7 separate regions of the Homo sapiens genome follow, and regions 1, 3, 4, 5, 6 and 7 are each linked to region 2. Evidence: promoter capture Hi-C in 16 types of primary human blood cells and fetal thymus (Javierre and others, 2016). All regions are on one chromosome and are shown on one strand. Each heading gives the region's core, a stretch centred on a gene start or on the middle of the fragment in contact. The rest is flanking DNA. Distances are from core to core; before and after follow the strand shown.

Region 1 (3,558 bases), core at 1,022-3,521, 1.3 Mb before region 2:
GTAAGTGCTTGCCGAAGGGAGCACAGCTCTGTCCATTTTATTTCATGTTTCTTGGGCTCACTGCCCCATTATAGTGTAAGCCCTTCGATGGTGGAGCTTATTCTGTCTGTTTGTTTACTGTTGGATCACCAGCACCTAGAATGCTGCCTGGCACATAGTAGGTACCCAATAAATATTTCCTATATGTTGGATGAATTGCCTCTCTCCTCATCTCCAAAGTTGGTATCCACCACTACCCTGTGAAAAGAGCAGAGGTGACTGAATTTTAGAGGCCTTGCAGAGGACTTATTAAACACTTACTGTGGGACTCTATCCTCATAACTTTTTAATTTACTTATTTGTATTTTTAAAATCAACAAATAAAGATATATATATTTATGATGTACAAAATGATGTTTTGTTCTATGTGTACATTGTGGGAAGGCTAAATCAAGCTAATTAACATATCCATTACATCACATACTTATCTTTTTCTTTTTGTGGCAAGAACATTTAAAATCCACTCTCTTAGCAATTTTCAAGTATTCAATAACGTTGTTATTAACTATAGTCACCATGTTGGACATAGCAAAACTTCTGAATCGGTAGGCCTGAGAAGAACAGAATTTGCCTCTAATTGATTCCCTGGAGATGGGGATTTAATGCTTAATTTAAGGGATTAAACATTGTATTCTATCAATTGAACTCACGATGAAAGTATTATAGGTGTCTAAGAAAGCTGTTTCTAATGTCCACAGAAGCAAAATGACTTATCTAAGATTCTCCAGGTAGTGACCAGTTCTAGTTCTGTCTGAAATTCGTACTCAGGTCCCCTGACTTCCAGTCAGTGATATTCCGACCATGGCATCCTGACTGCTAACCCTTGCTAACAAAATTTGAAGTAGGTCACCTCTGACCTTTGTTTATGTTTAGAAAAGTTGTTGTGCTCAAGGCCTTCTATCAAGTACCCGCTGCGCCAGGTTTAGTAAAATACATAAGCTACTCCCCATTTTTGTTGTTGCTGTTTTTGCTTTTGCTTTTTAAAGTTTTTATTACAGTATAACATCCACACCGAAAAGTGCGCAAATCCTCCATAAACTCCGACAGAGAGGCAAGACAAGCCAGGCTTCCCACGCTCCTGTCCCCTCCACCGGCCCTGCCAAGGGTAACCACGTGCTGGGAGATTTGCAGCACAACGCAAAGGAGAAGGATTAGCGAGCACCTTGTTCCAGCAAAAACTGGAGCAAGCCTAAAACTTCCTGGGAATTAAGTGTAAATTTAAGCCAGGTATTCTAGTAATGTTGAGTTCAACAGGATTGCCATTATTTTAACTAGAATTCAGTTGAGAGCAGAGCGCCATCGCCGTCTTCCGCCTTAGTCACTCGGCCCTGGGCTGGCTCACGCCCGCCCCGCCCCCTCCCCGCCCCTCCCACGCCCGCCCCGCCCCTCCCACGCCCCCGCCCCCGTCCCGCTCCCCCTACCCCGACCCGCCCTCCCTCGCCCGCCGCCCCACCCGCCGCAGCCCTCCCCGCGCAGCCTGGGAGTGACTCGGCGTTCACTCGGGAGACGCCGCTCTGTGGCCCGGACAACCGGTCCTATGCAGCGCCGTCCGAGGCAGTTCGCGGAGAGGCGGCTTACCTTTTAACCCAGGAATGCCCATATCTTGAGAAAAAGAACAACAAGGGGGTGGGCGGGGGTGGGGACATGGGGTAGGGGGGCGGCTGGTGGATGGGGAACTAATAGCGTTTAGACAAGAGACAGAAGTGAGTCCTGAGCACAATGTAGCATAAGCGCGTCAGGATGGCCGAGCGGTCTAAGGCGCTGCGTTCAGGTCGCAGTCTCCCCTGGAGGCGTGGGTTCGAATCCCACTCCTGACAGTTCGTACTTTTAGTATTTAGACACAAATCGAGTTTAAGTTTACGCTACGTTTTCCTACCTGCTCTTTGTGACATGGTCTTCTCTCTTTTTAAAAAATAAATTTTCCGAGTTCCGGAATAAAAGCACTCTTTGTTTTTATTAGCCACTCCAAGGACAGCAAAAAGTACTCTGTACTCCGAAAATAATTTCAGAACCTACCGGTGTTTTGAAATCTCACCTCCTTTTTCCGTTTCTCCTCTGTCTCTAGTTGTCTTTCCCTCTCCCTCCTTCACAGGCAGAGTTGAATAAATGTTACTCTTCAGTTCATGGCTCATTACATTACTGCAGGGCTCCTCTTTATTTAGTTATAGTTATCTTTTTAATTCCATTTCTTCAGTCTCATTCCCCACCTCATCCTTACTCCCCGTAAGAAATCACTGCAAGAGTTCCGGTCTGGCAGAGAGCGCGGAGAGACGCAGAGCGCGGGCCGCTCCTCCAGGGCGCTCCAGGCCCTCCGGCCCCGGGTCGGCGGGTGAGCTAGGGGGCGCCCCGGGACAGGCCGCGCCCTCTGCCCTGCAGATACCGGAGGCCTCTGCTGTGGCTGCCCACTGGCTGGGCCCAGGCCTTGAAGCGGTGGCGAACGTCTCTTCCCTACCCTACCTCGGTGACTGATGGCGGCGGCGGCCTCTCCCAGTCCGGACCCTGCCGGCCGTCGGGTCTCCCGGCCCAAGCCTGCCGGGCCTGGACGAAACCCCCGCCGAGCAGCCTGGACGCAGCGCCTTTGGGTGGCGGCGGGAGTAGCGTGCCGGGAAGCATGGCGGCCGCTCGAACGCCGCGCGGCGGAGGGCGTTAGGGCATGGAGGGCCCGGGAAGGCGGCCTAGGGACGCAGGCAGGCTCGGCCGCCTCTTCAGGCCACGGAGCCGCCAGATCTGGGTCCCGGGTGACCACTCTGTCGCCATTGGGCGAGACCTACCTAGTCCTAACGACAACGGACAAAGGCCTTAACGGGCCTGGGAGGTGAGCGAAGTCCCGAACGACGACGGGTGGAACGGTTAGCGGCGATCGGGCGGTTGGTCTCCGTACTACCAGACCTTGCTGTCGGAAGAGACAAATGGTAGAATGACAGGCCACGTTTGGCCCGTTGGAAATGCCCTCCATCCTCTGGGAAGATTCACAGGCCGTTTACGGAAGGCCTGTGTATATAATATGAAAAAGCTGCTCTCAACTCCACCCCAACCTTTTAATAGAAAACATTTGTCACATCTAGCCCTTCTAGATGGAAAGAGGTTGCCGACGTATGATAGAGTTAGAAAGTCACACATCTTGTAAATTCTCATTTGTTTAAAAGAAATCATAGAAAATACATGTCTTCCGGAGTTGACTTTTGGAAACTGAGTTGTTAGACGGCCTCTAGAAGCGATACGTTCACGTTTGTTCAGTGGGTTAGATGACATGGAGCTCGAAGACCTGAGAAGGAAAAAAAGAAGGTTCTATGCTAGACTGGTCATATTTAGAAGACATTTTCATATTCTATCCATTGTTTTGTGTGCATTCGCTTCCTCACTACTATGTATGTAGTTGACAATGCTAAGCTTTTTTGAAATGTCTATTCTTTTTAGATATTCTGAAGTGTCTGATATATGTTAAAATTAGAGGTAGTAAAACCACATTTTGTAAATATCTTTTTGTTACAATTCATAGAAATGTTGTTTTTTGGGGGG
Region 2 (3,454 bases), core at 99-2,598:
GTGAGCCGAGACCACGCCACTGCACGCCAGCCTGGGTGACAGCGAGAACCTGACTTGAGGAAAAAAAAATAATCCAGTACAGAATGACACGGTCATATCAAATTGGCATGTAATAGAGACCCCATCTTGAAACTTGCTACTATATTGTCTTGTGCGTTGATAGCATATTATATTAATGCCGAACACATTAGTGACGCCGAAGTAGCTGGTGCCTAAATGGCTTAAACGCGGAAAAACCACATACAGATGATGGAACAAAAACTGGCCAATCAGATTATAGAGCGGGCTTTTTAAAATATAAGAAGCTTCTTTGTAGCTAGGCGTCTGACAAAAAGCTTGACACCAACTTAACAAAAACCAACGGCTGGAATTCATACTCTAATAACAGACTGCATGGGTAAACTACGTGGGGAGTCCAACCAACACCCTGGACTCTTGCTTGCCTTGCGTTACTCGATTAGGGTTGAGGGAGAACTGCCCGAGATTTTTCGAATGCAAGGAATCTTGCTGCCTGATCTAACATGTTGTGCACAGCCATTTTTTAGAGGTCTCTGGGTGGCTCTGAAAAGAGCCTTTGGGGCTTTGTTGCGGTTTTCACACGCCAGCTTCCTACTTCTTTTTGGCAGCCGCCTTCTTGGCCTTTGCAGCTTTAGGTTTTGCTGCTTTGGGCTTAGCGGCTTTGGGCTTTGCCGCCTTCGGCTTAACTGCCTTGGGCTTGGCAGGACTCTTGGTTGCCTTTTTCGGTTTGGCAGCGGCCTTGGCCTTCTTAGGGCTCTTCGCCACCTTTTTGACGCCAGCCGCCGCGGGCTTCTTCGCCTTCTTCGGAGTCTTCTTCACTGCCTTTTTCGCCCCTGCAGCCTTCTTGGCCTTCTTAGGCGTGGCCCCCGCGGGCTTCTTAGCTTTAGCGGCGCCTGCCTTCTTGGCTTTGGGCTTGGCTTCCCCGGAGGCCGCCTTCTTGTTGAGTTTAAAGGAGCCAGAAGCACCAGTGCCCTTGGTCTGCACCAGGGTGCCCTTGCTCACCAAGCTCTTGAGGCCCAGCTTAATGCGGCTGTTATTCTTCTCCACGTCGTAGCCACCGGCCGCTAAGGCCTTCTTAAGGGCTGCCAAAGAAAGGCCATTGCGCTCCTTAGAAGCAGCCACAGCCTTGGTGATCAGCTCTGAGACTGGGGGCCCCGTCGCTTTGCGCTTAGCAGCGCCGGCGCCGGCAGCCTTCTTAGTTGCCTTCTTCTTAGCCGGGGATTTCTCCACCGGCGCTGGGGTGGCTGTCTCGGCAGGAGCGGTTTCCGACATGGTGGCAAGAAACTGCTAGAAGAGAATAAGCTCGAAATCTAAAGAGCAGGTTTTGCGTTGCTGCTATGCTCGGGCCCCGGGCTTATATAAGCCGGCGCTGCCCTGTGATTGGTGGAGCGTCCAATCCACCGCCCTCTGGCCGCCGCCGCTCGCGGTTGGACTCCCAAATTGTGTTTGTTAGTCCTCAAAATTTGATTAAATGCTTAAAACAATGGTACAGAATTTGGCACTTTGAAGCTCCAAAGGAGGAAAACAGCCTCCAGGTTCACATACTTGTTTGTGTTTTCAAGAATCTTGTGCAATTGATGAAAGATATTTTAAAAAATCCCTTCAGCTTTTCATAAGAATCCATTGGGCTGAGGGCATCATGTTAGTTAGTAGCGTGTCGCGATAAATTTCTACTAAGTATCCAGTGAAAGTTATTTTTAAAAATTTGCCCATGAGTTCATGCTTTGATTTTTGCAAGAGAAAAGACACTGGGTTCCTTGGTTTGGGCATGAAGTTTGTTTCTAACTGTAGCAAGTAACACAGGCACAGGACAGCTGGTTGCCTACAGCCCCAACTTAACCACATAGACTTGACTTTACAAACTGGTTCTGTGTCCTAGGAGTTTCCATGTGCTAATGTCTTTACAGAATGGGATTTTGCAGCTTGGAAGAGTTCCACAGTCAGAGTGACTTCTTCTGCATTGCAGCACCAGTAATACAAATCGCTTTGACTTAAGGATCTAACTACTCAGATTCACATTCAAACTTAAATGTGTTATGTTTTCTAATTAGAGTGTTTTCTCTTTTTAGTTCCTGGGCAAATCCATTAAAAAAGGGGAAGAAAAATAATATAGATAATTCAGTTTAGAGAAAACTCAAACTTGTGGAAAATTATTCAAGAGCTCCCAGTGATCCTCAAATGCACAAACTGTTTAGGTGGCCCAGGACACTGTCAGGTTTTCGAAATGTTCTCACTGCTCCCCCTGAATCTCCACCCACATTTAACAAGCTGCACCATCAGGAATACTCTCTTCTATGAGCAGCCAGGATACATCAATATGGGTATTTTTGTGTGTTTTAGCGCTAATATTTTAGAAGAATATCTGGCTATTGACTGTGAAAAGGTTGGATTGGATATTGAGCGACTTCACATTATAGAGGTTCAGAGGAACTCAGGAAAACATAGGCAAATACACTGAGGTTGAAATAAATGAAGTTTACAATTTATGGGAGGTGGAGGGGATTGGACAGGATGCCTGGATGATAAAAATGATCAAATGATGATTTGGATTCCTAATGAAATCAACAGTCACTTATTTCTCATTCTTGAAATGCTGTGCAAGAAAATTTAAAGTAGCCAATGCACTTCATCTTCTAAGAACTCCTGGAGAAGTTGGCAGACTATGGCCAAATCTGGACAATGGCTTTTTTCTGTATGGCCCTCAAGCTAAGAAGTGTCTTTATGTTTTAAAAGTATTGTTAAAAAAAAAAAAAACAAAAACAAAGGCTGGGCACGGTGGTTCATGTCTGTAATCTCAGCACTTGGGGACACTGGGATAGGTGGGTTGCTTGAGCTCAGGAGTTGGAGACCAGCTTGGGCAACTTGGTAAAACCCCATCTTTAATAAAAATACAAAACATTTTGCTGGATGTGGTGGCACATGCCTGTAGTCTCAGCTACTCGGGAGGCTGAGGTGGGAGGATCACTTGAATTCAGGGTGTCAAGGCTGCAGTGAGCAATGATAGCAGCACTGCACTCCAGCCAGGGCAATGGAGCAAGATCCTGTCTCGAAAAAGCAAACTAACTAAAAACTAAAGAGTGTGTGACAGAGACTATATATGGCCTTTAAACCCTAAGCTATTTATTACCTAGCCCTTTTGCTGTGTTATAAATTTCTCCACAGAGACACAGATATTGTATAGGCCTCTTACCGAACAATGCAAATTGAGAACTAAAGAAAAGGAGATCTTCATGAGCAAATGATCTAACCAAGCACTTTCCACTGTTCCAAACACAAAACTTAGAAGGTCCAGGAGAAAAAAACCCCAAAACTCCATGTGTAATGGAGCCAGGGTATAACAATAAGAGCTGACACTCATTCAGCATTTACTACCTGACAGGAAGTAATCTTAAATATGTTCTACAGGTTTCTATTAATTTGCTACATTTACAGCTAT
Region 3 (3,150 bases), core at 126-2,625, 1.4 Mb before region 2:
GGTGCCAAATGACTCCAGGAACTGGGCCATGATGTGGTGGGAATGACCTTACCCTGAGCATGTCACTCATGCATTGAACAACAGCTAAGAGCAGAGCTTAGAGCTTAGAGCTGGGCCCTGTAAGGTGAGAGGAATCACATCCTGCAGAAGTCTGTCCTGAGAAGCAGGTACTCCTGTCACAGCAGAGACACAGTGGATACCTGAGTAACAATAATACAAGACAGGACGTGGGAACAGCAAAAGATTTGGGTGTCAGAAGAGGCCGAGAACACTTCAGGCAGGAACATTCAGAGTTGTTCTTGGAGGAAGTAGGCACGAAGGCTGGGCAGGATTTCACGGGGCAGAGATGGAGCAAGCAATTGAAATGAAAGCCATGGCATGGGAAAAGGAGCACTGGCCACAGGGAGTGCAACGTTGTGATGCAAGGCCACTGTGGAGCCATTGCTAGCGTATTAACTGCAAAGTTTTGAATTGAATCAGAAGGGAATTGGAGGCCTCCAGACTAAGCATTTAGACACTTGAGGGGAATATTGACAACTGGGCCTCGGGAAGATTATTCTGGAAGATATCTTTACAATTACAAGATTGGAGCCTTTGGGAGAGGGATGATGTTTACGGGAGGATGGTATGTGTGCTAGTGTGTGTGTCTGTGTGTGGCTCTTGGACCCAACCTGACCACCTACTATCTAGAAGGTGAAGGACAACTAGAAAGTTTTGCTCAATTCCATCTTCTGCCACCACCAGAATGCCACCTCCCTGAGGGAAAAGGTTTTTGATCCTCAGTCAGGATTCTCAGCACCTCTTATCCGATAGCTTTGGAATGAATGGCAAGGCCTTCATAACAGCCACTGCAACTGCTGTCTCCTTTCCTTTGCTACCCCTCCCGCTCCAGCCATGCCAGCTTCCCCCAAGCCCTCCTGCGCTCCAGGCCCAACCTCCAAAGCCAGCAACTTGAACAGGAGTCCTCTGGCTTTGGAAAGGGGGCGGCTTACGTTTTCCTGCTCATGTTTCCTCCCCAGCAAAATTGCCCTCTACATAGAGAGGCCTCTCCTTGTGGACACCAGCAAAGCCACCGACCTCAGTGACAAACCCCAGGGAATCTCCCCAAGGAATCTCAAAGCGAGAGAGAGAGAGAGAGTCTTGAGAGAGAAAGAGAGAGAGAGAGAGTCTTGCTTTCGAACAAAGAAAAAGGAAATAAAAAGACCCGATAATCTCAAAAGGTTATTTGCTGCTTGAAATTTGTGATTCGGTGTATTCTACCCAGCAACTGCTGAGAAATAAGGTTCGACACCATTGGCTGGTTCACTCACACCCGGCCAATCCTGGGCTCTAAAATACTTAGGGAACTCTTGGGACTGTGGAAGCCCAGGAGACCAGATTTCGTTTCCTGCATCTCCAAACATGGCGACCTAGGAGAAGGGGAAGAACAATTTTTTCTCCTCTTTTGGGAAGGTTTGTGTCTAGTAGTGCCTGTGCCCCTGGGCAGATTGGAGAGAAGAGGGACGACTGGAGAATCGTCGAGAACCAGCGGAGAAAAGAAAAAGCAACGTTTAATTCTAGAAGGTAGGAAACGGAGGGGAGGCGCTACAGCTCCGGGGTGGGCACAGTAGGTGGGGGAAGCGGGGTCTGCTGTGGACACGAGACGGGGTCCTGGGACAGGGAAAGCCCACCGGTGGGGAGGCGCGGCCTCGCCTGTCTTTGCCTCAGGCTGCCCGGCCTGGGTCGCGGGGAGGAGGAAGTGAAGGGAGGAGGGTGTGGTAGAATCCAGCGACAACTGAAGAAACTGCATTCTGGCCAGAGAAGTGAGCCGAGGAGGGCGGAAAAAGGCCCCCTTGATCTTGGCATTGATGGCTTACTTCATGGAATGTTTAAGGAATCCCTCTCTCGGGACATACCTGAGCCTTCGGATGCAGGGGACTCCCTGAAGTTGGGGCACTGATGAGACCTACTTGAGTGACGGGAGAGGTTGGGCCCGACCAGCACTGAGGTGCCAAGACTCCTAGGCTGATTCTCCTCTGTAACCCTAGGCCTCCTGTCCCTGCCTGCTCTGGGTGCTCATGGAATCAGCTGCTGCCCTGCACTTCTCCCGGCCAGCCTCCCTCCTCCTCCTCCTCCTCAGCCTGTGTGCACTGGTCTCAGGTAGGGATGTGTGCCACTTGCTGCTGTCACCTATCAGAAAGGAACATCAACCCTGTAGTCTGCAAAGGGAAAGAAAGAAGGACTGTGGAGTTGTTGACTTACCCTTTCATTCTGAACATGTTCATTGAATTTATACCAGCACTGTCCAAAAGGAATACAGTGAGGCACAAAGGCCGAGTGCATGTACAATTGCAAATTTTCAAAAAAAATTAAATTTTACTTTTTATTTTAAAAAGTAAAAAGAAACATGAAATAAATTTGTATACTATATTTTGTTTCGCCCCAAATAATCAAATACGAATATTTAAATACTTAGTTAATATACCATATTACCAATGAGATAGTCAACATTTTGAAATTTTAAATCTTCATAATCCTGTGTGTATTTTACACTTACAGCTCATTTCAGTTGGAACTAGCTAGTGGATATGTGTCCTATTGCACGGCTCAAGTTTACAGTACACTCAGGCACAGCACTAGATTGGGAAATCGAGGAAAATCCCCTCAAGGGCACAGGGTGGACAGAGGGTGCTCAGGGCAGGTTCCTCAGGGTTTCCTTCATGAAGCAGAAGCACACTTTATAGTTACTGCTCCCAGGGGTGCTGTCGACTAGCCACAGCTACTGGTCCCCAGATTTCTCAGCCCAAAGAGACCCTATGGCCATGGAAAAAATAAGTTTGTCCCTAGAATATCTGCTTCCTTTCTTGCCTTAGAGATGTGATGGCTGGTGTCTTTGTCTGACTCTACCCCTTTGTTGAACAGCCCAGTTTATTGTCGTGGGGCCCACTGATCCCATCTTGGCCACGGTTGGAGAAAACACTACGTTACGCTGCCATCTGTCACCCGAGAAAAATGCTGAGGACATGGAGGTGCGGTGGTTCCGGTCTCAGTTCTCCCCCGCAGTGTTTGTGTATAAAGGTGGCAGAGAGAGAACAGAGGAGCAGATGGAGGAGTACCGAGGAAGAACCACCTTTGTGAGCAAAGACATCAGCAGGGGCAGCGTGGCCCTGG
Region 4 (3,137 bases), core at 508-3,007, 1.3 Mb before region 2:
TCGAAGAAGACTGAACCCAGGAAAAGAGACTGTGTGAGCATTCTCACACCAGGAAATGGGCTGAGAAACAATTTTGGAGTGAGATGGAAGGAGAATGGTATGGAGTATCTATTCTTAGGGAAATGTGTGCTAGGCCAAAATCTCACTTTTTGGTTAAACACTCTCATTCTCTGATAACATAAAGGCCTCTAAAAATATATGCAGAATATTTGGGGTAACCTTATTATTCATTGCCCAAGTTAGGTCACCTTTCAAAGTAAAAGGGAACATTATGAATAATTATACTAGGGCAACAGGTATAAATCAAGTCACCCTACCATTAGACCAAGTGATTTTCACTGGTTCCTTCATTGTAAGAGTAACTCCTTTTGTTTCCTAAAAATTGTTAAAATGATTCCTTAATGTTGCATTTGAAATAAAGGGAAAAAGACAAAAATTAGCAATAAATTCATGTAATGTCTAGGCAAGGATTTCTTCAGAAGAGAGCAGGTCAGGTGTAGTTAGATCAGTAGAACTGTATGTCTCAGTGGCACCATTACCTTTTTTTTTTTTTTTTTTGAAGCAGAGTCTCACTCTGTCCCCCAGGCTGGAGTGCAGTGGCACAATCTCGGCTCACTGCAACCTCCGCCTCCCAGGTTCAAGCAATTCTCAGGTGGATCACCTGATGTCAGGAGTTCGAGACTAGCCTGGCCAACACGGTGAAACCCTGTCTCTAGTAAAAATACAAAAATTGGCTGGGTATGGTGGCGTGCGCCTGTAATCCCAGCTACCCAGGAGGCTGAGGCAGGAGAATTGCTTGAACCCGGGAGGCAGAGGTTGCAGTGAGCCGAGATCGCACCACTGCACTCCAGCCTGGGTGACAGAACGAGACTCTGAGACTCTATCTCAAAAAAAAAAAAAAAAAAAAAAAAAAACTGGAGCAATTTGGAGACAAGATTAAAAAAATAATAATAACATTGTAGAATGGTGGCCACTCACAAGGTTACAGAATTTCCCAGTAAATGTTTTCAAGGGTGGGGCAGAAGGTATGATAGACAAAAGCTTTAAAAAAGTCACACAGTGCCCATGAATGCCAGCCCTAGGCCTAAGTCCTAATTACTCAAACTCAAACTATTTTCCATTTCCTACCTGTGTGGCTCTCAATCTGTGCTCTGGGCTACCCACATTTTTTAGTACTTTTATTAATTCTTGAGCAGACACATACAATTTTTCTGTGTAAGACATAGGTAATACTCCAGCCATGTGCTTCCCCTACAGTTTAAAGAAGAGAATGCAACCTCCCCCATCTCTGGACTAACCTCCATGCCTTCTCCAACTACATCCCTTTCCCAACTCCCAAGAGATGACCACTGTCCAATTTTTATTTATCCCTTTTTTTTTAAGTTTTACTATATGTTTGTGGCCTCAACATGTCATAGTTTTACATGTGTAAATGGATCTATAGTGTACATATTCTTCTGCAACTTGCTATTTTTCTTCGGCATTATATTCTTGAGATTCATCCTCGTTTTTGAACCTACCTGTAATCTATTTGTTTCTGCTGCTGAATGGTATTCCCTTTTATACATACTACCAAAATATATGCATCCCTTCTACTATTGAAGGACATTTGGGTGATTTACAGGTTTTTGAAATTACAGTGTTGCTAGAAACATTCTTGTGGAGATCTCCTGTCCACACCTCCAAGAATCCCTCTAAGTAAACACCTAGAAGTAAAATTGCTTTACACAATACCACTGTTTGCAGAGTGCTTTACAAATAACCACTGTTTCCAAAAGCAAATACACTAATTGGCACACACACACAGCAGTACATAAGGGTTTTGATTGCTCCATATCAGCTGAGCCCTTGATATTGTCAGACAACTTGGTTTTCCTCAGTTTGATAGATATGAAATGTTATATCCTATGCTTTTAATATGTACTTCTTATATATTTTTAGGTGCTTATTCCTCACTCATGCTTCCAAGAAGTACCTGTTAACATTTTTTGCCATAGTTTTAAAATTTTCATTTTGTCCTTTCCTCATGGATCTATAGGAATGCTTTATGTATTCAGGATTCTAACATTTTGTCCATTATATATTTTACATATATCTTTGCCAAGCTGGTACTTATTGTTTTACTTTTATTATGCTATCTTTTTTGATATACACGAATTATTAACAATATAGTCAATTTGATTTTTAACGTTTACATTCGTCAGTCTTTCCCTTTATGGTTTACGCTTTTTGTGTCTTGTTAAAGACATCTTTCCAGGAACAGCGTGAGGAGGACAGAAGCACCCAACAGGACTGCTCAAGCCACCTGCGAACACTGCTGCTACCATGCCCAAGAGAAAGGCAAAAGGAGATGCTAAAGGTGATAAAGCAAAGGTGAAGGATGAGCCACAGAGGAGATCAGCTCGGTTGTCTGCTAAACCAGCTCCTCCAAAACCAGAGCCCAGGCCTAAAAAGGCCTCTGCAAAGAAGGGAGAGAAGCTTCCCAAAGGGAGAAAGGGGAAAGCAGATGCTGGAAAGGATGGGAACAACCCTGCAAAAAACCGAGATGCCTCTACACTCCAGTCCCAGAAAGCGGAAGGCACTGGGGATGCCAAGTGAAATGTACATTTTTGAGAGCTCTGTACTTATAGTGACTCTACTGTTTGAAATACTATTTTTTTAAATCAAGTTTTATAAAAGTGTAGAATTTTGGCTTTTTTAAGTTATGTTGTTAGCACACAGGACACTTCCTTGTTGTCTTTTGTGGAAAGGGCAAGTACCACTAATAGGGTGTATCTCAGAAACTGAATTGAAATAAGGGAAAATAGGATTTTCTGTCCTGGTTTTTGAAGATTGTTCTTGATTCCCTTGATTCCCAGGAGAGATTCTCTGACATTCACGTGTCAGCCACTTTGGCACGGAAGCCTTACAGTGTGGGGAACCAAAACTTCGTGTCTCCCCTTTCCCCGATGCCATCAGCATAGACTTGACTTCCTTAAACCGAGAGTTTTGATGTGGCCTTGGCAACCCTAAAATCAGCTGTGTTAGGTAACAAAACTCAGGCTTTCTGTTGATGACATCGAGATGGTGTCACTTAAAAGAGCCAAGATTCCTGTTTTCAGTTTGTGGATTCATCCTGCTGGTTTTACTTTAGTCCC
Region 5 (3,360 bases), core at 704-3,203, 1.3 Mb before region 2:
GCTTTCAAAGTACTCTCTGTGGGTTCCCCTGTTTGAGCCTGTGGGAGTAAGGCAGTGGACAGCACACTCTGAGAACTGTGCGTTACAAATTCTATTTAATTTGATATTCACAACTATCCCCTTAGGATCTGTATTACCTTCATTATCATCATCTCCATTTTGTATAAGGCATGAGGAAGTTAGGGAAGTCATACTACTAGTGAGACATAGATTCAAAGGTGGACTAAGTGGCTCCAATACCTCTCTGTGTTCTTTCCATTACATCATACATACGAGTAAATAGCCTGTCCATGTTGCTGTAACTTCTACTACCAAAATTCATTATTTACTTTTAAATTGTGTTCAAAAGGGTCTATGTATACAATTAGTTCAATACATATTTACTTTTTAGGAAGCATTACAGTACAGTTACTGTTGAAACACATGCCACAGAAATTGGTTCTTCACTCACTCCCGAGGGACCCAAGCAGCCTCCACTTGGGGTTCTTCCGGCGTTATCTGGCGCTGCTGCACCACGTCCTCCCCTACACGTGGAGGTCGGTGGTGCGATTTCCTCACCCTCAAGGGACTCAAGGGACCACGCGCTCGCAAAGAACCCAGGGCCTCTTCCATCAGCTCGCAGCAGGTACGCAGTAAACCTTTACCGAATGAATGAATGGAAATCAAATCTGCGAATTAACTGCATGTTAGTTTGCCACATGGGCTGCATTTTAAAATTTTATTTATTTATTTACTTATTTTTATTTATTTTTTTTGAGACGGAGTCTCGCTCCGTCGCCCAGGCTGGAGTGCAGCGGCGCGATCTCGGCTCACTGCAAGCCCCGCCTCCCAGGTTCGCGCCATTTTCCTGTCTCAGCCTCCCGAGTAGCTAGGACTACAGGCGCCCGCCACCATGCCCGGCTGTATTTTTAGTAGAGACGGGGTTTCACCATGTTAGCCGGGATGGTCTCGATCTCCTGACCTCGTGATCCGCCCGCCTCGGCCTCCCAAAGTGCTGGGATTACAGGCGTGAGCCACCGCGCCCGGGGGGAACTTCTTTTAATGGTGCCAATCTTATGGACCTCAGACACCTCTCAGTGAGAACTTGCTGGCATTTTGTGTGGAGAACAGAACCGAGGGGACCAATCTGGACAAGGGGAGCCAATTAGAAAACTGCAGGCCCAGGATTATCTTATTTTCATTCTCTAGAGCAGAGTTTCAATAGAGCGCTATTGACATTTTGGACTAGATATTATAATTCTTTGTTGTGGGGGCTGTTCTATGCATTACAGGATGTTTACTAGCATTCCTGTTCTTTACCTACTACATTCCTCAGTCACAACAATTTACCTACTATATTCCTCAGTCACAACAATTAAAAATGTCTTCTTACATTGTCAGATGACCGTTGTGAAGGCAAAATTGCTCCATTAGAGAAATTACTGCTCCACGAGTATGTACCATTGTTTTGGCTTACTATTTATTTTTGAGACAGGGTCTGGCTCTGTCGCTCAGGCTGCAGTGCAGTGACGTGACACAATCATAGCTCACTGTGGCCTCACACTCTTTGGCTCATGGGATCCTCCCTCCTCAGCCAGTCCCAGTAGCTGGGACTACAGGCCCCCGACCACTACGACCCGCTAATTTTTGTATTTTTTGTAGAAACAGGGTTTCACCATGTTGGCCATGGCTGATCTCGAACTCCTGGTCTCAAGAGACTTAGCTGCCTCAGGCTCCCAAACTGCTGAGATTACAGGCCTGAGCCACCAAGCCCGGCCTAGTTTACTATTTATTGATTAGGGTAGTTTTTCAGCTTTGTAAGGGAACGTCGTGATGTGGTGATGCAAATGAACTTCGTCTGATATTTAGTTATTTTCCGTCCTGTAGAAACAGTACAGTTTTATTGTCCTGTAAGGCAGTTTCCAGTTCTCTACCTCACTTAGCAATGTTAATTTACAGCATTGCTTCTTTCAGTGACTATCAATAAATTCTTCGATCCAGTTTTACCAGTTTTACCATCTTGATGATTCCCTCATTAGTGAATTAAACCTTTGACAAGTGTTTATTTCATATTCGTATATGAATCATGCATTTAACCGTTTGAAAAGTGTATTTTGACCAAATGTATAAAAGTAAATACATCTGTGAAATAGGATAACTTATTCAGGCAATTGAGGTTGGAGAGGAGATAAAACATTACATTTAATTCATCGAGACTCGCCCCACTCAAATAAATGTTTCATGGACTTGAGGAGATTAATGGCCAAGTTAAATGTACTTTCAATTTTTGTTCAGAAAAGAAAAAAAAAATCTGTGTGCCATAAAGGAGTGAACATTGGGCTCAATGGCCTACTTGCACAAGAAGGATCATTTGCCCTGTGCATGTTTCATTATATGACAAGGTAATTATCTTTAATGGAACATGAAAAAGAATGAAACAGATTTTTTTTTCTCTTTTCTTTTTTTTTTTTTTTTTTTTTTTTTTGAGACGGAGTCTTGCTCTGTGGAGTGGCTGGAGTGCGGTGGCAACATATCTGCTCACTGCAACCTCTGCCTCCTAGGTTGCAGTGATTCTCCTGCCTCGGCCTCCCGAGTAGCTGGGATTACAGGCGCCCACCACCACCACGCCCGGCTGATTCTTGTAGTTTTAACAGAGACAGGGGTGTCACCATTTTGGCCAGGTTGGTCTCGAACTCCTGACCTCAGGTGATCTCCCCGTCTCGGCCTGCTGAAGTCCTGGGATTACAGAGGTAAGTCACCGCGCCGGGCCATAATGAAACAGATTTCGGATGCCAGATTCCACCACAAGTGGATTTTTTCATTAACAAGGGAGGATAATAGCTATTCTGAGCTTCAGAGTCATAGAAAGCTAGACAAGAATCTTACACTTTGCAAAACTAATATTTGAAATGATATTACCTTGTGTTAATCATTTAAAAATGTATCATTTTAGCACACCCATGGATAGGTTTTTGCTGAGTTAAGAATTAATGTGATGGCCAGCTGCTGTGGGCTCACGCCTATGATCCTAGGGCTTTAGAAGGCCAAAACGGGCGGATCACTTGAGGCCAAGAGTTCGAGACCAGCCTGGCCAACATGGCAAAAATCACAACTCTACTAAAAATATAAAAATTAGGCGGGCGTGGTGGCTTGCGTTTGTAATCCCAGCTGCTCGAAGGCTGAGGCGGGAGAACGGGAGAATCGCTCGAACCTGGGAAGCGGAGGTTGCAGTGAGCCGATATCGCGCCACTGCACTCCAGCCCAGGCGACAGAGCGAGACTCTGTCTCAAAAAAAAAAAAAAAATTATTATGCTTTCGAAGTTGCATTATTTAGCCTGCTCTTCCTTCTCTTCCTCCTGTCAGTTATCTCAATAAAATCCC
Region 6 (3,605 bases), core at 978-3,477, 1.4 Mb before region 2:
CTTTGCAAGCAGGGGACCTCTGGCCAGCAACACCCCACCCAAGCCTCGCTTGGCTAAACTGGCATGCCCCAGCTCACCTGTGTTATAGCTTATACCCACGTTCAGCAGTTCCTGAGCTCTTGTACCATGCCCAAGAAGAATGAGGATACACTAGACGTTGAAGGGTGAGGAGGGCTGAGAAGAATTTTATCAAGCGACTGAACAGCTCTCAGCAGAGAGGGGATGCTGGCACCCCTACCTGAAGGCAGGAAAGCTCCCCCTGTGTGGCTGGGTCCAGGCCTGTTTTATGGACTCAGAATGGGAAGTGTGTGCTGAATGGTTTGTGAGTATGCAAAAAAGGTTAAAGTGAAGACACCACTCAAAGATGGCCACAACAGTGTAAAAAAACAATTAGGAAAGTGTGGGTATATGGAAAGTAGTTGAAGGGTGGGGACCAATCAGAGGAAAGTGCACCAAACAGGAAGACAAGTTCTCAACAAGTTCTCAATTTGGGCTGAGGATTTACCTTGTAGTTTGGCTTTCAGGCTTTAAACTGTCTTCAGCTTGGAGGTGGGGTATCACTGGGGACCCATTGCTACCTGCCTAGGCATCTGACTGCCTCCTGTCTGCTATCACTAGGTCCCAAGGTTTGTAGCAAGGACCCCTTACAAAGACATCCCCCACAGTCTACCCAAAGGTTAACCTTAGAACATATTTCATTGTCAGAGTGAGAAACAAATACACATGAAAATACAGTATGGCACAAATAAGGAGCAAGAGGTGAAGAAAGCTTCAGTCACACCCAAAATAATTTTGTGAAAAATATAAAATATGCAGTTATAGACAGCACTAACTCTGGATACCAGAAAATTCTATAATTCGGTAATGGATCTGAGACCTGAATTTTGGAGGTACTAAAATAGATGCAATAGATCTAGTTTTCATTATGTTCATACTTTCATTTGGCTCTGTGGTAAAAGATGATAATATCCAAAACAAAAGATGATAATATCCTCCATGTAACAATTACATGCAAGGGGATGTCTGCAAACTGCCACAGTATCATTTTAATTAATACCTATCTTCTCTTCTTAAAATCTTTTCATTTTTCCACTCAGTTCTCCTGATATTTCTGTTATGATATAAAAGACAGCTGAATGTGAAGAAACACTGATTGTACACGTAACACACACATTAATGATTCAAATATGTAAACACAGAGAGCTGCAAACACTTTGAGAGGTAGGGCTGAAACTTTTCGTCAATGTGTACAATTCAATATCGTTTCAGTTTTCATTCTAACCGTCCCCAGTGGCTTCTGCCCAGCAACTGATGAGAAATGGTACCTCTGAGCCAATCAAAACACGAATTCCTACAAAGAGGATTCTCTTAGTGTTTCTCGGACCGAGTGTACAGCACATGCTTTCTTTTCCTTTATTCTGGATCAGAGAATCTTAACTAAAGCAGAAATAATTGTGTTAAATTAAACTAAATTTGGTATGAGATATGTATACATTTAGCCTGAGGGATGGCTCTTGAGCCCTTAAATAATGAACTGCAACCTAACTTAGTATGTAAACTAACTGAAAGCTTAAGGCATGGGAGTATACTTTTGTAACAAATAGCTGAGTCTCAGCCAATCCCAGTAGCCGAACTTCAGTCGGCGGCAGTCAACCCTGCAGCCAAGTGATCAGACTATGTTCAAATAAGGCCAACTCTGAGCTGTAACCAATTAAGCTGTTTCTGTGTGTCACTTCCCTTGTGGAATGGAGCTCACTGAACCTCTCTGATGGCTGCCCGATCGTTCTGATGGTTTGCAAATTGTTCTTTGTTCAAATTAAACCCTGCTAAATTTAATTTGTCTAAAGTTTTTATTAACAACAGAAAACTATTGATTACCTTTTTTTGTGGGCTATGATTTTCAGATAGGAATATTAAGGAGTAAGTGGGGAAAATTGCTTAGAGCCAGGGCTACAAGGCCTGGAAGAAAAGGGACTGAAAAGCTGAGAGGGGAACTGGCACAGAGAAAGGGGTGAGGATGGAGAGGGTAGAATGCAAAGAGTAAGGACCTGAAGAGGCTGAGATTTGGCTGAAGAGGGACAACCTGAATAGAGAAACCTTCCAACTGCATGTTCTTAGGAACTAATTACAGTCAGAAAGGAGCAAAGACTCCTTTTTTTTTTTTTTGTCAGAGTCTCACTGTTGCCCAGGCTGGAGTGCAGTGACACAATCTCGGCTCACTGCAGCATCCACCTTCCCAGCCAAGCAATTCTCTGGCCTCAGCCTCCGGAGTAGCTGGGAATACAGGCATACGCCACCACACCTGGCAAATTTTTTGTATTTTTAATAGAGACGGGGTTTCACCATGTTGGCCAGGCTGGCCGGCCAGGCTGGTACTGAACTCCTGACCTCAAGTGATCCACCCACCTTGGCCTCCCAAAGTGCTGTGATTACAGGCATGAGCCACTGCCCCCAGCCAGGAGACGAAAAGACTCCTAAAATATCTCCTGGTTATGTTTAGGAACATATTCCAAAAGGTTCTAAAAAGAGATGTGCCTTAAAGATTCATATGTATATTGTAAATTTTCAACTCCATATTTTCTAGATGTCCCCAACATCCCCACAACAGCCCGTCAACACCCTGCCCAGGTGACCAAGTACACCAGTGCAACAGGGCTGGTTCCTGCCTGCTTGCCCTTGCTTAACTGTGACCTAGTGACCTCCTCCCATCTTTTGATCTTTATTCCTCTAGTTCACTTCCTTTGTCACTATCTCTCCACCCACACCTACTTGCCTTAATCACCTTAACAGCAAAGGCTGAATTATTGTAAACAAAAGGAGTCTGTCTTTTTAGTGCATGGGTCCCCAAGTATGTATATATGAATATGCAATGAACCCCAGGATACTAAGCTTCACTTAAGGATTTTTTCCTACAAGGACTCAGCTGTCACATTTGGGGGCATTTTGTTTTGTTTTGTGAATGTTTAACCAAGCTAATGGAGGAACTATTGGTACAATGAACTCAAAAAATGTACAGGATCAGCAGGGCATAGTGGCTCACGCCTGTAATTTCAGCACTTTGAGAGGCTGAGTTGGGAGGATCACTTGAGCCCAAAAGTTCAAGATCAGACTGGGAAACATAGTGAGACTTCATCTCTAAAAAATTAAAATAAAATAAAATAAATACAAGGAAAAAAGAAAAATGTACTGGATTGAGGGGAAAAATTTATGATGCAAACAGAAGAGCATTTATGATTGAAGTGAGAGAAGGATAATGGGGGAGGATGGTGAAAGAACATCAATCTAAATTTATATTTAAATTTACATGAATCCAGTGCAGGCAGCATCTCAGGGGAGGGAGGAGTCTATTTTTCTGTTGATTTCCTGGGCTAAATTCCTGACTGACTCATTGCTGAAAGTAAATAACATATTATTATAGTTGAAAGATTTTTTTTTAGTGTAGTGATTTCAAACTGTGCTCATTTATATGCAACCCATGAACGCCTCCCTTCTCCTATGTCTCCTTTTGAGTTGTAGGGCCAGTTTGAAGCTTTATATATCATTTACCAAACTTAGGGTGGTGAGTGGGTGCTGATGGCAGCCTGGTTTGAAAATCTCCACTGGAG
Region 7 (3,455 bases), core at 31-2,530, 1.3 Mb before region 2:
ACTCATCATCTCCACTTAGAAGCTAATAATCATCAAAACTGGACTCCTTATCTCATTCCCTCCCAAATCTGTCGCACCCACAGTCACCCTCACTCCATTCCATCCTTCACAGTTCTCTGGTCAGATACCTGGGAGTCAGCCTGATTCTTCTTTGTGTCGCATTCCGCATCAATTTATTGGGTGATTCTGTTGCTTCTATCTTCACTACATATCCATGATCTTACAGCATCTCACCACTCTTACTGCCACAACTCCTTTTGGAGACATCGTAATTTTCGCCTGAATCAATCTTGCCTTCCTGCTTCTGCCCCTGACTACTTACCTATTCTTCCACAGCATATTGGATGACCTTTCAAAAACCTACTGTTTTTTTTCTGGGGTGGGGTGGGGTGGGGTGGTTTATTCAAGGATTTAGGGGCAAGTGGTTTAATCCAGAAAACACTGGTGTGGAAAAAACAAAGTGAAAAAGAAAAGAAAAGAAACCAAGGAATACCACTCTGGGCTATTCAAGCTTAATCCTTCTTAACCCCTCTTAATCCTCAGAGGAGGAACTCTGGGAAACAATGTTGAAAATATGCCTAAAAATGATCAAACTTCAAGGGTAAGGGAGCTGGGATAGTCATACACCATTTACCAAAAATTGCTTGGGAGCTATTCTAAACCTCCAATTCAGTGGAACATCTGGCCTGCCATGAATGTGGGCAAAGTGTGATCAGCAGGTGGGGAAAGCTCTCATGCGATAAGATGCAAGTACCGGCAGGTAGAAATCAGCCTGGTGGACATTGACATGGTGAAGGTCAGGGGGATATGGGGGGGGCTTCTTGGTGGGATGCCAGAGGTAATATGGTGAGGCTCCAACATCTTCAATGTGGAGTTGATCCTTGATCCTTGGTCTTCAAAGTTGGTCAGTGGCCAGGTGCCGTGGCTCATGCCTGTAATCTTAGCAGTTTCTGAGGCAGGTGGATCACTTGAGGTCAGGAGTTCAAGACTAGCCTAGCCAACATGCTGAAACCCCGTCTCTACTAAAAATACAAAAATTAGTCGGGCGTGGTAGCACATGCCTGTAATCCCAGCTACTAGGGAGGCTGAGGCAGGAGAATCACTTGAACCCGCGAGGTGGAGGTTGCAGTGAGCCAAGATCACACCACTTCACTCCAGCCTGGGCAAAAGAGCGAAACTCCATCTCACGTACACACACAAAGTAATAATAATAGTAATAATAATAATAAAATAAAAGTTGGTCAGTGGTCAATACATTTTCCAGGTCATTCCTGGGAGAATAAACAGTTTAAAAAAGGCTCAGATATCTTAGAGAGCCTGAGATGTTCCTAGAACTGAAACCAGTGTTGTACAAAAGGAACACTGATGTTGAAGAACTACTGCTGGATTAGAAGGAGTTAGGAGTATTAGGAAGCCCTACCTGCCATTGGGAATAAAAGTAGAAGATAAGACAATGATCAGGTTCCTTGTAGCTATTTTAGCCATGAAAATAGAAACTTTAGACCAGATACAGCATGCATATATAAGATAGTCATGTAACTTTCCATTGAATGTGATGCTCAGTCTATTTACTAATAATAATTAGGCATAAAACTCAACATTAAGAAATGATCTCGCATGGTAATTTTCAGGTGCAGCAAGGATTTAAGAGGCTAAGATTTTATGATTCATGCTACAATTTTCTATTTGTCTTAGGGAAGATCTGTCCCCAAAGAAGCAAATGGTTGGTAGAAGTTATGAGGGAAAAAGGAAAGCAATCTGAATTGTGGGTGCTGTGGCAAGGGAGAAAAGGAGAAAAAGGACAGTCACTATGGCTGCATATGGGGCCAAGAGACAGAGCAGGTGAAATGCCTCTTGTGTCTAATAATTATTTTTGCTGTAATCCTAATGACTGAACTTTCCAGGCTTGAAAAACTGCCATAGTATTTTAAAATCCCAATCTTAGATCTGTGTTCATTCTAATTTTGAGATTTTTACTACTTTTAGCTCAATACATTTAAATGTTCTAGAATTCTACCACAAAGAACCAAAGAAACTTTAGACATTTTCCTAAGCTTATCATAATATAAAGTGATATTAGGCTGTACGTAGACCACTGGCAATACTTCACTAAGCTTTTTCTTGGGATATGTTGATATTAATATATTAAAATATATATGTATATTTAAAAACCTGTTTTCTATGAACACTTTTAGCATACCTCTTAGTGCTCAAGTTCACACAATTTTGTTGGATATTTACCTAGAAAGGAATCTGGTCTTCTTAATGAATTCATACTTCTGAATTTCCTGGATGTATCCATCTGGATACATTAGCTTATGCTGCAATAATAAGTAATTCCTCTCCCCCACGCCAAATCATACTGGCTTATAACCATAAACTCCTATTTCTGTGTCATAAAAATCTATCATGATTTGGTTGGTGGTCTCTATTTCACTAATAAACCCTGATTTGTAGATCCTCTACAATCAAAATAATCAATTATTTTGTCAAGGTAAGGTAAAAAGGGACCCGATAGATTGCTCACTGACTCTCAAACATCTGGAAGGGACACCTCATTTTCCAGAACAAATGTGTCATATGTCCACATCTATTTCTGAGGAAGTAAGAACTACAATCTGCACATGCTACGTTACTAGAAGACTGTGGATCAGAATGACCATATGACCATCACAGAGCACCATAGGGCCACCAATTATTCTGGCTGCTCTCCTTCCTAAAAGCCAAATACATTTAGCTTTTCCCTATGGGAGACAACACAAAGGTCCATTAGAACATGGGCCAGTTGGAAGTCTAGCATCTCTGAACCATGGTGGTCCCTCCATTGATGAAGGATTGCAGTAGTTTCTATGTTGATTTTCATAAAAGCAGCTAGGCAAGTTTCCCAAATCTGAAACTTAGTGCAATAAAAAATATTGTACATAATATGAAAACATCAGAACAAAAGCATTGGAGACAAAATATGGTGAAAACAAACGTATTGTTGTATAATACGTTAGAACATAATTATTATGGGTAAAAGAACAAACAGTTCTTTTAGTTCCCCTAAATCTTAGAGAATACTTTGATTTTGTTTGTTTTTATTTTTTATTTGATTTATTTTTTGTTTTTGTTTTTGTTTTGAGACGGGGTCTCGCTCTGTTGCCCAGGCTGGAGTGCAGTGGCTACATCTCCACTCGCTGCAACCTCTGCCTCCTGGGTTCAAGTGATTCTCCTGCCTCAGCCTCCCAAGAACCTGGGACTACAGGCACCTGCTCCAATGCCCAGTGAAGGTACCTGCCACAATGCCAGCCGGTTTTTGTATTTTTAGTTGAGACAGACTTTCACCACATTGGCCAGGTTGGTCTCGAACTCCTGACCTCAGGTGATCTTCCCACATCTGCCTCGCAAAGTGGTGGGATTGCAGGTGTGAGCCACCATGCCTGGCCTAAGCAGTGTCTTTTATAAAGCAAACA

The links. Contacts are between HindIII fragments. The CHiCAGO score rates a contact against its expected background, and 5 or more counts as called.
Region 1: a contact is called between the fragment with the promoter of HCG11 here and the fragment with the promoter of H1-5 in region 2, in 6 of 17 cell types (neutrophils, non-activated CD4 T cells, activated CD4 T cells and 3 more). The highest score is 7.8, in neutrophils.
Region 3: a contact is called between the fragment with the promoter of BTN2A1 here and the fragment with the promoter of H1-5 in region 2, in 5 of 17 cell types (non-activated CD4 T cells, monocytes, M2 macrophages and 2 more). The highest score is 6.7, in non-activated CD4 T cells.
Region 4: a fragment that was not itself captured here is called in contact with the fragment with the promoter of H1-5 in region 2 in 2 of 17 cell types (fetal thymus and M0 macrophages); the score reaches 6.4 in fetal thymus.
Region 5: a contact is called between a fragment that was not itself captured here and the fragment with the promoter of H1-5 in region 2, in 2 of 17 cell types (naive CD8 T cells and fetal thymus). The highest score is 6.4, in naive CD8 T cells.
Region 6: a fragment that was not itself captured here is called in contact with the fragment with the promoter of H1-5 in region 2 in 5 of 17 cell types (fetal thymus, M0 macrophages, monocytes and 2 more); the score reaches 13.8 in fetal thymus.
Region 7: a fragment that was not itself captured here is called in contact with the fragment with the promoter of H1-5 in region 2 in 6 of 17 cell types (M0 macrophages, total B cells, naive B cells and 3 more); the score reaches 7.6 in M0 macrophages.

Annotation. Positions count from the first base shown.
Region 1 is chr6:26,519,435-26,522,992 of GRCh38, forward strand. HCG11 (HLA complex group 11) reads left to right here and starts at 2,272. Exons shown (of 1, transcript NR_026790.1): 1 at 2,272-3,558. It overlaps TRL-CAG1-7 (tRNA-Leu (anticodon CAG) 1-7), which reads left to right and starts at 1,774; the gene lies at 1,774-1,856. LOC107986583 (a long non-coding RNA gene) reads right to left here. Exons shown (of 4, transcript XR_001744057.3): 1 at 2,075-3,558. It also overlaps the pseudogene RNU6-502P. RefSeq lists silencers at 1,378-1,977, 2,208-2,727. The HindIII fragment of the contact is 10,867 bases long and covers 1-3,427 here.
Region 2 is chr6:27,866,240-27,869,693 of GRCh38, forward strand. It overlaps H1-5 (H1.5 linker histone, cluster member), which reads right to left and starts at 1,349. Exons shown (of 1, transcript NM_005322.3): 1 at 553-1,349. The coding sequence starts at 1,290. The coding sequence ends at 610. RefSeq lists enhancers at 1,169-1,278, 1,539-1,608. The HindIII fragment of the contact is 3,270 bases long and covers 334-3,454 here.
Region 3 is chr6:26,456,580-26,459,729 of GRCh38, forward strand. BTN2A1 (butyrophilin subfamily 2 member A1) reads left to right here and starts at 1,376. Exons shown (of 8, transcript NM_007049.5): 1 at 1,376-1,563; 2 at 2,028-2,139; 3 at 2,902-3,150. The coding sequence starts at 2,058. RefSeq lists enhancers at 987-1,246, 1,407-1,566. The HindIII fragment of the contact is 11,033 bases long and covers 1-3,150 here.
Region 4 is chr6:26,542,882-26,546,018 of GRCh38, forward strand. It overlaps HMGN4 (high mobility group nucleosomal binding domain 4), which reads left to right. Exons shown (of 2, transcript NM_006353.3): 2 at 2,246-3,137. The coding sequence starts at 2,326. The coding sequence ends at 2,598. Among named protein-coding and RNA genes, the nearest start is that of HMGN4, 6.1 kb to the left of the region's middle. The HindIII fragment of the contact is 1,437 bases long and covers 1,040-2,476 here.
Region 5 is chr6:26,565,155-26,568,514 of GRCh38, forward strand. No RefSeq gene overlaps it. Among named protein-coding and RNA genes, the nearest start is that of TRY-GTA1-1, 2.0 kb to the right of the region's middle. The HindIII fragment of the contact is 6,863 bases long and covers 1-3,360 here.
Region 6 is chr6:26,472,606-26,476,210 of GRCh38, forward strand. It overlaps LOC285819 (a long non-coding RNA gene), which reads right to left. Exons shown (of 4, transcript NR_038992.1): 3 at 3,547-3,605. It also overlaps a transcript of BTN2A1 not described here. Among named protein-coding and RNA genes, the nearest start is that of BTN2A1, 16 kb to the left of the region's middle. RefSeq lists an enhancer at 1,230-1,279. The HindIII fragment of the contact is 1,320 bases long and covers 1,568-2,887 here.
Region 7 is chr6:26,583,560-26,587,014 of GRCh38, forward strand. No RefSeq gene overlaps it. Among named protein-coding and RNA genes, the nearest start is that of TRY-GTA3-1, 8.2 kb to the left of the region's middle. The HindIII fragment of the contact is 1,543 bases long and covers 510-2,052 here.